4 separate regions of the Homo sapiens genome follow, and all the other regions are linked to region 1. Evidence: promoter capture Hi-C in human tissues and cell types (Jung and others, 2019). All regions are on one chromosome and are shown on one strand. Each heading gives the region's core, a stretch centred on a gene start or on the middle of the fragment in contact. The rest is flanking DNA. Distances are from core to core; before and after follow the strand shown. Region 1 holds the start of ERAP2 (endoplasmic reticulum aminopeptidase 2). Region 2 overlaps RGMB (repulsive guidance molecule BMP co-receptor b). Region 3 overlaps CHD1 (chromodomain helicase DNA binding protein 1). Region 4 has its middle 63 kb from the start of RGMB.

Region 1 (2,700 bases), core at 192-2,691:
GGAGGCATGGTCGAGCAGTAGTTGAAAGGATTAATCTGGTGGCATCGTACAAGTAACTGCAAGAAGCTGAGCTTGAGAAGCTGGGAAGACATGATTGAAGGCCATTGTGAGGAAGGATGAGGACCTGGACTACTTTAATAAGCGGTGGGATTTTTTCTTAGTTGGATAGAAAGAGATTGAAAATGATTCAAAAAGGCCAGTTGCGGTGTCTCATGCCTGTAATCCCAATCCTTTGGGAGGCTGAGGCAGAAGGATCACTTGAGCCTAGGAGTTTGAGACCAGCCTGAGCAACATGGGAAGACCTCATCTATAAAAAAAAAATAATAAATTAGCTGGGTGTAGTGGTGGATGCCTGTAGCCCCAGCTACTTGGGAGGCTGAGGTGGGAGGATCATTTGAGCTCAGGAAGTCAAGGCTGCAGTGAGCTGGGATGGCACCACTGCACTCCAACCTGGGTGACAGAGTGAGACCCTATCTCAAAAAAAAAAAAAAGAAAAGAAAAGGAAAAATCAACAGGCTTTGGTAACAAATTGGAGAGGGACAGAATCAAAGTAACTAACTATATGGTTCAATCCTAGATAATGGAAGAAGGCTGGAAGCATATAAAGCAAAGGGTGTTTATCTGGGGAAAGAAAACACTATTTGAGTTGTCAGGGTTCTGGTTCAGGTTAGGGTTAGACATCCATGTACTGTTGGTCCATCAGGCTGTTGGAATTACAGCAGCAGAACCCTTGAAGGAGGGATCACAATGGGAGCAATGTGGGATGAATGGGGATAAATGCTAAATCTGGGTACTGGAAAGGATAAAGAGAGGGCAGAGCAAAGGCCAGAGGTTTCATCTTTGTGGAAGGTCTGTATTCAGAGCAGAGAGGAAGTTGAAGCCCAACTCAAACAGGCAGATAAAGAGAGATCAAAGAGATGAGCATGAGATACAGTCCCCTCGTGCCCAAGGAGACAGGGTGGTTACAGACATGGAAAATCTGAGAATAATCACCTCTGATAAAGATCACAGAAGCTGCCCGGGAGGTGTTTGGTAAGCTTGGAGTTACGTTTGTGGGGTGGATGGGCAGAAGTCAGATTTCATAGCACTGAGGATGCAGCACAAGGAGAAGTTCAAGATCAATTCCTAAGACAACAACTTGGCACTAAAAAACATAAACTATGTTCTGAAGGCTTTACCCTGGGGACAAGGGAAGGGAGGTGATAACAGCAGAAGTGGCAGCCACTGGCGATCCTTTCTTTCCATGGTTTGGCTTCTACTCCAAAGCCACTTATTTGTGCATTCTACAAAAAGTTTCTTGTCCTTTTTGAAATAAAGCTCTTATCCTAAGCTCCATTCACACCTGCGTGATAATGAACCAGCTAGTACTTACTGTACTCAGGAAGCATGCAAAGTTCTGAATCTTAGAACAGAAAGTGAAAGCAAAAGTAAATTCCCCTTCAGTCAAATCTGCAGCAGCATGATTTAAGGTAACGTATCAACATTTCTCTTGGGTTTGTCTTAAAATTAGATTTTTTCAATAAGAATAATGAACTGAAGGTATAGAACTGCTGTGTTGAGAAGGTTTTGTAATCTAAGGCAAGGTTCTGGGGGACTGGGGTGAATTGGGCGCGGCTGTATTAGAAAGTGTATGCAGTTGAGGCTGGGACTTGATCTAAGACGCTGCTGCACTGACTCTCTTTCAGAGATCTTTTTGTCTTTTCTAAGCGTTTGTGACAATTCTTGCCTCTTCAATCCCAGGATGTTTTGTTCACTGCATTGCTATTTAAGGTACAGTGCAGTATAATAGAAAGCCCACCAGACCAAAGGGCAAAGAGCTATGTTTTAGTCCTGATTCTGTTTCAGACTTCCTGTGTGGATTTTGAGAAGTCACCATCCTGTTCCTTCATCTGTTTATTTAATTTAATTTATGTATTTATTTATTTATTTATTTTGAGAGAGAGCCTCGCTCTGTCGCCCAGGCTGGAGTGCAGCAGCACGATCTCGGCTCACTGCAACTTCCACCTCCCTGGTTCAAGCGATTCTCGTGCCTCAGCCTCCCGAGTAGCTAGGACTACGGGCATGTGCCACCATGCCCGGCTAATTTTTGTATTTTTAGTAGAGGTAGGGTTTCACCATGTTGGTGAGGCTGGTCTCGAATTCCTGACCTCAGGTGATCTGCCCACCTTGGCCTCCCAAAATGCTGGCATTACAGACCTGAGTCACTGTGCCCGGTCCTGTTTCTTTATCTGAACACTAAGGACTTGTACTAGCTGGCCTTTACAACCCTTACTAGTTCTAAAGTTAAAGACTGTGTGAGTAAAGCTTTTCTCTCTACTCTTATCAATCAAGTACATCTCTAGGAGTGTCTGCTACAAGTGGGGGCGAGCTACTCCTTCATTTTGGCCATTGAATGCAAGTTATAACCTCAATAATAATTTCATATCCAACACTAATTACTTACTTCCTATATGCTCCATGCTGTGCTGTGCCAACTTCTTCACATGAATTATTTCATTTAATCATCCCAGCATGAGGAAGGTATAATTATTACACTGTTTTATGGTTGAGATAAATGAAGCTCAAAAAGTAAAAAACTTTGCCCATGATCACGTAGGTGAGGTTGGTGGAATTAGCGTTGGAATCTGGGCACTCTGATTCCAAAGCCTCAGACCCACATAATAAGCCACTCCATTTTTTTTAAACCCTCCAAAATTCAAG
Region 2 (2,700 bases), core at 49-2,548, 1.9 Mb after region 1:
GAAACACTGGTTTTCACAGATGCTCCACATGGCTGTCTTTAAAAGACTCAAAACTTTTTTTTGTCCTCTTTGTTATGCTTGGAAGCTCCCCCCCCCCCAACAGTGTGTCGAGTCTTTGCAAAGAAACCTTTAGATGTGGTTCATAGATATATGAATACGTATCTGTGTAAAACAGTGAGTGTGCAGTGTGTAAATACTTTAAATTATTATGCTAGAAAAATAAAGTTACATACCTTGCTGTGGAATGTCTGTTCTGTGATTATAGGGACACCTGCTGGAAGAACTGAGAGCTGCAGAAGAAAGGGAGTCGGGGGAGGGGGAATTGTATAAAATCCCTAAAGGTTACTGATAAGTCATGCCACCTGCCCACAAATTCGCTGATTTTCAAAACTATAGCATTACTGTCATTTTTTTTCTTTTGAAATTTTAAGCAGTTACAAATCCGTATCAGTGAGATTGGTCCACTAGTATTGTCCCAAAGTTCTGTCTTTAGTAACAGTTTTGGTCCCTTGAAGACATACAGCCTGCACTCTAGTTCTTTTTAAGGTGATGTGAACAGTAACGACTTCCTCCTGGTGGGGAGGATTTGGGAAGGCAGGATTTTCTGGCTTTGAAAACAAATCCTCACTTCTTGGGTTTTAAAAAGAGACATCAAGAGATCACAAGTTGGTCTTTGTTCAAGAAACACACCAAAGGGTAGAAAAGTTAGGAAAATAACTGAAACAAAAGGCACAGAGAAGCACTGTTACTTGTATTAGGTAGAATACTAAATGGATCAGATTCTGACTGGGATAAACATACATGTAATCATTTCTTCTTTTTTTTTTTTTTTCTTTTGGAGACAGGGTCTCACTCTGTCACCCAGGCCAGAGTGCAGTGGTGCAGTCTCAGCTCACTACAGCCTCAACTTCCAGGGTTCAAGTGATCCCCCCGAGTCGCTGGGGCTACAAGTGCATGCTACCATCCCCAGCTAATTTTTGTATTTTTTGTAGAGACTGAAGGCAGGGTTTCACCATGTTGCCCAGGCTGGTCTCAGACTCCTGGACTCAAGCAATCCGCCTGCTTCAGCCTCCCAAAGTGCTGGGATTACAGGCATGAGCCACCACACCTGGCCATAATCGTTTCTTAAAGAAAAAAGCTTAACCATTGCAGTTGACTATTTACATGTAGCAGTTCAGAGCAAAAAAAAAAAAAAAAAGACAATCATATCAGCTGAACCACATAAAATAGGATGAAATGACATAGTCACTGAGTACCCAGTGATGTGTCTGTGCTGAAAGAATGCAGATAATCTATAGCAGAACGAAATGTGCTATAGACTATTTGACTTTTATGCTTAAAGTCAAAAATAATTCTTTACCATTCTGTCTTCATTCCCAGAACTCCAGCTCTTTGGGGACTGAAACGTCAACTCCAAAATCCCAACAGCGACATCAACCCTAAGAGTCCTGTTATCTGATTTATTTTTTATCTTGTTTATTTTTAATTTTGTAGCATTGGCAGTATTCTATTGTCTGGAACTAGCTGGGATAACAGTCTTGGATTGCTGCTGTCCTTTCTGAGCAAAGATACCTTGCTGCAGATTTTCTCCCTGTTCTATTTGTATGTGAACCAATGTCTCCCCCACAGAGAAAGTAATCAGGATGTTCAAGGAGCAGTTTCAAAGTTCTTTATTATTTCACTACCTAACCATATTGTTACCTAAACCTAAACCATATTGTTTCTTTCTGCTTCTATCCCTTTTCTGTATGTCTTCCAAATGGACAAGTCACATGAAAGCAATTGTTATTATTTAGATGGTATTTTCCTTTAAATTTACTGCTCTTTGGCTGGGCACAGTGGCTCATGCCTGTAAACCCAGCAATTTGGAAGGTCGAGGCGGGCAGATCACTTGAGGTCAGGAGTTCGAGACCAGCCTGGCCAACATGGTGAAACTACCATCTCTACTAAAAATACAAAAATTAGCTAGGTGTGGCGGCGAATACGTGTAATCCCAGCTACACGGGAGGCTGAGGCAGAAGAATCGCTTGAACCCAGGAGGCAGAGGTTGCAATGAGCTGAGATCATGCCACTGCACTCTAGTCTGGGGTGACAGAGCGAGACTTAAAAAAAAAAAAAATTCTGCTCTTCTTCCCCCAGGTACCTCTAATAAGCATGCCATTTGATACTATCAACTAAATAATAGAATATGCTGTCCTTTGTACCCAAAAGGTTATGTCATGGCTCCCTGACGGTGAAATATGTGTGAAATCCAACCAACACCCAGCAGGATACACTAACAAACATTCTACAAAGCCAGAATGGATGCCCTCACCCTCCTTGGAATGATGTTAAACCAATTGAGTAAACTGGTCCTGCCAACTGCAATGTAATAAAGTAGGCCTATCAAACTTCAGCAGGAAGAAAGCAACAGGGCAATGTTTTCTGAGTTCTTCATGAGTAATATTTCTATGACCCATTTTTTATTTCAGTAATGAAAACTCCAACTCCAGAAGGAAAAAAAAAGCATTCTGCTACCAGATTGAATATACAAGACCTAGCCACAGATGAATTAACCAAGTAGGAATTGCACCTGCCATAGATGACATTTTCAGAAGATAACATTATCTCAATCAATAGTGTAACACCGCCAAGGGAAATGGTGCTATTTGATAACCCACAGGGTTTCCAAAGCCTTCTAACAGGAAGCAGTAAGGTGGG
Region 3 (2,700 bases), core at 183-2,682, 2.0 Mb after region 1:
GTTGTGTCCTCTATAACATCCTCCATTCACTACAATTATTGTACAATGCTAAAATGTATCTAAGTTTTGTCTGCATTTTCAAATTGAGTATTTAATGTATATTTAATAGAGGCATCTATATTAATGTGCTTTTACATATTAACTCAGAAATATTTTAAAATATTTTTGCAGTTTCCTATGAAGCTGAAAGTCGTTTTTTAAAATCCTGTATTTAAAAATTAGTTGCTCTTCCAAATCCCTATCCCTTTTTAAGCTGTTGTATTTATAAAGCTATTTGTATTTATAAAGCTATGACAGCTAATTTGGGGTGCAAAGATTATTTTCTAGTTAGAAATAGTAATGGGGTAGAGTAAAAATCAGGCCATTTACTCCTAGAGCATATTCTTGATAAACTTCATGAAAATGAATAACCTACTCAACCTTTTCATATTAACTACAAAAAGAAATTATAATTTATATTACATAAAATTAAAAAGGTTCTCATTAAGCTACTCACTCTGAAAATAAAATTATTCAAACTCATTTTCCATAGTCTGAAAATTAATTTCTAACATACTCTAAACAAAGAATATCTTTATAAGCAAACAGGCTATTGCTTTTAGTAAGAATTATTTATTGTATAAAAGTGGAAGGTTAATTGGTACAGTACTATACATAATCTCTCACCCTTGAAAAATTAAACATAACTGGATAAAAATAACAAAGCAGAATGAAAACAGAATATTTTATGGAGAATGTTCTGCTATATTTATGTACTAATGTTCTTCACCATTGCGTCTTAATTTTTCTGATTTCTTACAAAAATGAACATATTTTATCATTTGATAAATGTACATACAGTTCTATATTTTTCATTCAACTCAGCTAACTAGCTGACTGAAACTTTCAACTAAATGTAGCACTATTTAAAAAATTAGAGCCTTATCTCAGAAAATGCAACATTGTTCTGTGAAATTTGCACAATATAATGCAAATATCTTAGCTTTTAGTAATAAATTAAAAAATGCCAGCCACCATCTTATGACTTAAGCATTATGAATTAGTCAAATGCTATCTTGTGGAATAAAATAGTCATACTAAATGTAGAGAAAAGTGATAAAAGTTTCAAAAATGTGTGCCAGGACTACCTTCATTACTTTTATATTTAATTATAAATTAGATGTTTAAAAAACTGAGCTACTCCCTCACATGTTCTCTCATATACCAGAAAAGAAACAAAGCATTATTATTCTTCAGGGTAACTGTATCAGAAAGAGAAATTACTGCAAAAAACAAAACAAAAAGCAAAAAAACCCACAAGCTTTTATACACATAAACCTAATTGGACAAAGGAAAATATTAAAAAATACACCTATGGACAAATATCTGTAGGTTGCTCCCACAGCTAATTAACAGTGACACACATAGCAATACTATAGAAATTATGTCCACATACTTATATTCGTCAAAGATTCAAATTTGTTACATCAAAGCATACATGCAAGAATGTGTGCCACATGACTTAAAAACTTCCCGCTGAATATAAAACAAAATAAAAATCTGTGAATAAATATAAAGCATCCCATAATAATATCTGTAGGAAGCCAAAAGGGGCCAACAAAAATGTCTATGACCTAAGTTTTACTTCATAGGAATATTCATAGTCTCCAAAACAGATTTAGTTGTAATGCTACACATTACAAATATTCAACTGCTTACCAAAATACTTTTTCTGGCAGCAAAATGTTACTTAAAAACGGGGGTAGGGGGCGGTGGTGGTGGTGGTAAGTGCTTGAGGGAGTAAGAATGCAGCAGAAAATTACAGGAGCCCACATATCCTTTTTCTTAAATTTAATTTGTCATATATAACGTTTTTATATACAATCAGTGTGCATTGTAACAGTTTATATTAAAAGTCAATCAAGTTTATCTAAAATGTTAACCTGGCTGCATAGCACATTTGACATTATTGCCCACATAAAACGGGAAAACAAACGGATTTACAATAACTTTTGGCCGTTTTGGATTCTGAAAAGTGTTTATACACCTACCCTTTTAAACCAGATGCATCTGAAAAAAGTGTTTCCAGAGCATGCAGTTTAGATTTTACATATCTCGCCATTTTTTAAAACTACAAACACAATATTGACTAAAAAAGGAAAAAAAAGGGAATAACATGTATCTAATAAAATATTCAGTATAAAAAGAGGACTAATGGAATTAAGTGGCCCCTTTCCCCATTTTTACATTCTAAACAATGATTCCATCAAGACAAATCATTAAAAAGTGTTATTACACTGATTTTTTTTTTTTTAATAAGAAGGCCTGAGTTGGTAGGGAAAGGAACAGTCAAAAAAAGCCTGAGAAAGGGAAGGAAGTAAGGAAAGTTCCTTTAATATTTACAATAATTTACAGCCATTTTTTTTGTAAAAAGGCATAATAGATCACAAACAGGAAATTCCTGGCTATTTTACAGATATAAGTACAGAATTTAAATATTCAAGCTTGTGATGAAAAGCGGCAAGGTGGTCGCAGTGTACAATGTAAACAAGTAGCTTTGGAAATGAACAAAGTCCTTGAGTGTTTTTCTTTATTAAGAAAGAACTCTCTTTCATTCCTTCCTGAAACATGATCACAGGTCAGAGTAAAGTTCATATATAAACATAATTTAAATGGAGGTCAGTCTAAAATCACTGACTTAAAAACAGTTTTATCCAGCCT
Region 4 (2,700 bases), core at 181-2,680, 2.0 Mb after region 1:
TTTATTCACTATCATGAGAACAGCATAGAAAAAACCCACCCCTATGATTCAATTACCTCCCACCAAGTCCCTCCCAGGACACATGGGGATTATGGAAGCTACAATTCAAGATGAGATTTAGGTAGGGACACAGGCAAACCATATCAGAGAGCTTGGTACATTTTTAAGGATTTCAAACAGACAGAAAAAAAGAGGTCTGATTTAAGGGACGGAAATCATCCACTACTATGTAGCAGCACTACTTGGCCTCTCAGGAGCATATTTCCCTTTCATTCATTTTTCTCTTTTATTCTTGCTGTCTCAATCCCAATTTATTCTATTTTGCCCACTTCACTCTGGGAAGGGTGAGCTACTCCCAGCTCCAGGGGTAAATCCTAATTTACCTAAGCTGATCATTGTGCTCCATTCATCTTGTCATAGATTGGCATATATATCTCTATATATAATATATGTGTGTATATATTTGTATATGTTATATATAATTGCGTATATGTTTATACACACACACACACACACACACACACACACACAGTAGTTCTGGCCCATGCATTGTGAGGGAAAACCTGCTGTAGAGACTTCTGGGAAAGAGTTTCGCTGCTGAGAAATGAAGTTCCCCTTCTTCTAGCCTTTGTTCCTCTTGGAACTGCAGCAGCCATCCTGTATTGAAGAAAACTATCTCAGGATGGCAGAGTAGAAAATGGAAAGGACCTGGGTCCTCAATCACATCATTAAATTGTTGATGAGTTATCCTTGAGACAAAATAGTTCAGGACTATGGAAGATAACTTCTCCTCAGTGTTTAAATCAGTCTAGTAAGGATTTTCTGCAGCCCAAAGTACACATTAATATGTAAAATGCAGCCAGAGTTAAGAAGAGTCAGATCAACCTTATCAAATGTTCCTGATAGTTGAAGAAGAAGAAGAAGAGTCATTCTTGGTTTAGGTCCAAATACAAAGTGAAAAACTCAAAATCCTTAATTTTATTTTAATACATATGTGCTATATATAACACATATAGCTTAGAAGGAAATTTTAGTCATACTTCTTCAAATAAATGAAGAAATATATCAGAAAAGAACTATTAGGAGGCAGATGATTATGATGACTAGATAGATAGATAGATAGATAGATAGATAGATAGATAGATAGATAGATAGAGGGACTTGGTACAGGGATTTGACCTTATCAACTTTGGGAGCTGGTTAAGCAGTCTCTGTAAGGCTGTAGACTTTGCACCTGATGCTGAAACTCTTCAGTCCATACAGTAGACAGTTGGGAAAGAAGATGGGTGTAAAGTGAGGAAGACCAAGGACAGTCTCAAATTCATAAGCACAATTGGAGCCCATGAGAACACACTGACCAATATGTCATTTCTTTTTGCTTCTCGCCTTAAGGAAATACAAGCCCTGCAGAAGCAAGGGCCTTTCATCAAGGTGTTAAACACACACACCTGGCCCAGGAGTCGGAGACACTGACTTCAGGGGAGGGTAGAACAGGTGCAGGCCTGGTCACTGACTCATGCCAGGAGGTGATCCAACAGACAAACAACGAGCTGTCTAGGCCATAAAATGGCTGCTTCTTCACTTTTACCCTCTGAATCTCGCACAAAAATGTCCCGCCCACTCTAACTGGCAACACACAGGACAGTAAATTCTGGGAAGTGTAATGTAGACTAGCCAAGTTGACACATTAAAAAGTCACCAAAGCTTGCCAGTTTCTTGTGAAATAAATGGAGTCTATTGTTATCGTGGTGTTTCTTTTTCTTAATCAAATAGGACAGTCTTTGGAAAGAACATTTACATATTTACATGCATCCTTACCAAAGCCTTTTAGTGGCATCTGTTTTGCAAAATATTTGCATCTGCTCAGTCATCTTACTATTTTAATTAGATATTATAAGTAAGAGAGTACTTACCGCCTCTGAACTGTATCCTGAACTTTCTCAAATATGCAGATAGTGAGAGATGTCCATTCTGAAAACAGTTGCTTTACAGACATATGCCACTTGTTATGATAGCAGAACACTTTTGCCAAAGTACCATATCCTAGTCTCAATTTTGCCAAATTTATCAAGAATAAATATTATCTCTACCCTAGAAGACCAATAATGAAGGTTACACATGATCAAGGTAATGTGAACAAGAATTGTCTAATATCTGAAAAATCTATTTTGACAAACATGTTTTCCTGTGTTATAGTTGAATGAAAGATTCAGCAGTGAATAAATCATAGACATCAGAACTATATACACAGGCCAAAGTTAAGAAATAAGCATATATGTTAGATGAGATTGGTGAAGTCAATAATTAACCTGTATCCACTTAGGTCAATTTACCTCTTTGTGTCTCTATTTTCTTATTTACAAAGTGAGATAAATAAAGCAAATTCTAAGATTAACTTCCAACTTGATTCTATATATATTTGTAAATGTATTCATGTATTTAATTCCAGTATTATTTAATACTTTAGGAGTATGGAATAAAACAATTTAAAACATAAAAATACTTATACATAAAATATTTATACATTTGCACAAGTATATTGCAAATATATCATTATAACAGAGGCATTAACTACTTTATAATTATTTGCATTAACCAAAAAATATAAATCCAACCAGAAAAATTTTGCATCAAATGTATCACAGAATATTTTTCTGTTTTTGTTATTGTTGTTGGTTGTTTTGAGACAGAGTCACATTT

The links. Contacts are between HindIII fragments. The study calls those that stand out against the background at their distance.
Region 2: a fragment that was not itself captured here is called in contact with the fragment with the promoter of ERAP2 in region 1 in 1 of the 25 tissues and cell types used here (dorsolateral prefrontal cortex).
Region 3: a contact is called between a fragment that was not itself captured here and the fragment with the promoter of ERAP2 in region 1, in 1 of the 25 tissues and cell types used here (dorsolateral prefrontal cortex).
Region 4: a fragment that was not itself captured here is called in contact with the fragment with the promoter of ERAP2 in region 1 in 1 of the 25 tissues and cell types used here (dorsolateral prefrontal cortex).

Annotation. Positions count from the first base shown.
Region 1 is chr5:96,875,059-96,877,758 of GRCh38, forward strand. ERAP2 (endoplasmic reticulum aminopeptidase 2) reads left to right here and starts at 1,442. Exons shown (of 19, transcript NM_022350.5): 1 at 1,442-1,469. It also overlaps a transcript of ERAP1 not described here. RefSeq lists enhancers at 1,081-1,210, 1,231-1,380, 1,551-1,760, 2,131-2,340. The HindIII fragment of the contact is 2,321 bases long and covers 1-1,670 here.
Region 2 is chr5:98,796,250-98,798,949 of GRCh38, forward strand. RGMB (repulsive guidance molecule BMP co-receptor b) reads left to right here. Exons shown (of 3, transcript NM_001366508.1): 3 at 1-245. Among named protein-coding and RNA genes, the nearest start is that of RGMB, 24 kb to the left of the region's middle. The HindIII fragment of the contact is 5,798 bases long and covers 1-2,700 here.
Region 3 is chr5:98,853,389-98,856,088 of GRCh38, forward strand. It overlaps CHD1 (chromodomain helicase DNA binding protein 1), which reads right to left. Exons shown (of 36, transcript NM_001270.4): 36 at 597-2,700. Among named protein-coding and RNA genes, the nearest start is that of CHD1-DT, 74 kb to the right of the region's middle. The HindIII fragment of the contact is 3,415 bases long and covers 1-2,700 here.
Region 4 is chr5:98,834,886-98,837,585 of GRCh38, forward strand. No RefSeq gene overlaps it. Among named protein-coding and RNA genes, the nearest start is that of RGMB, 63 kb to the left of the region's middle. The HindIII fragment of the contact is 5,018 bases long and covers 1-2,700 here.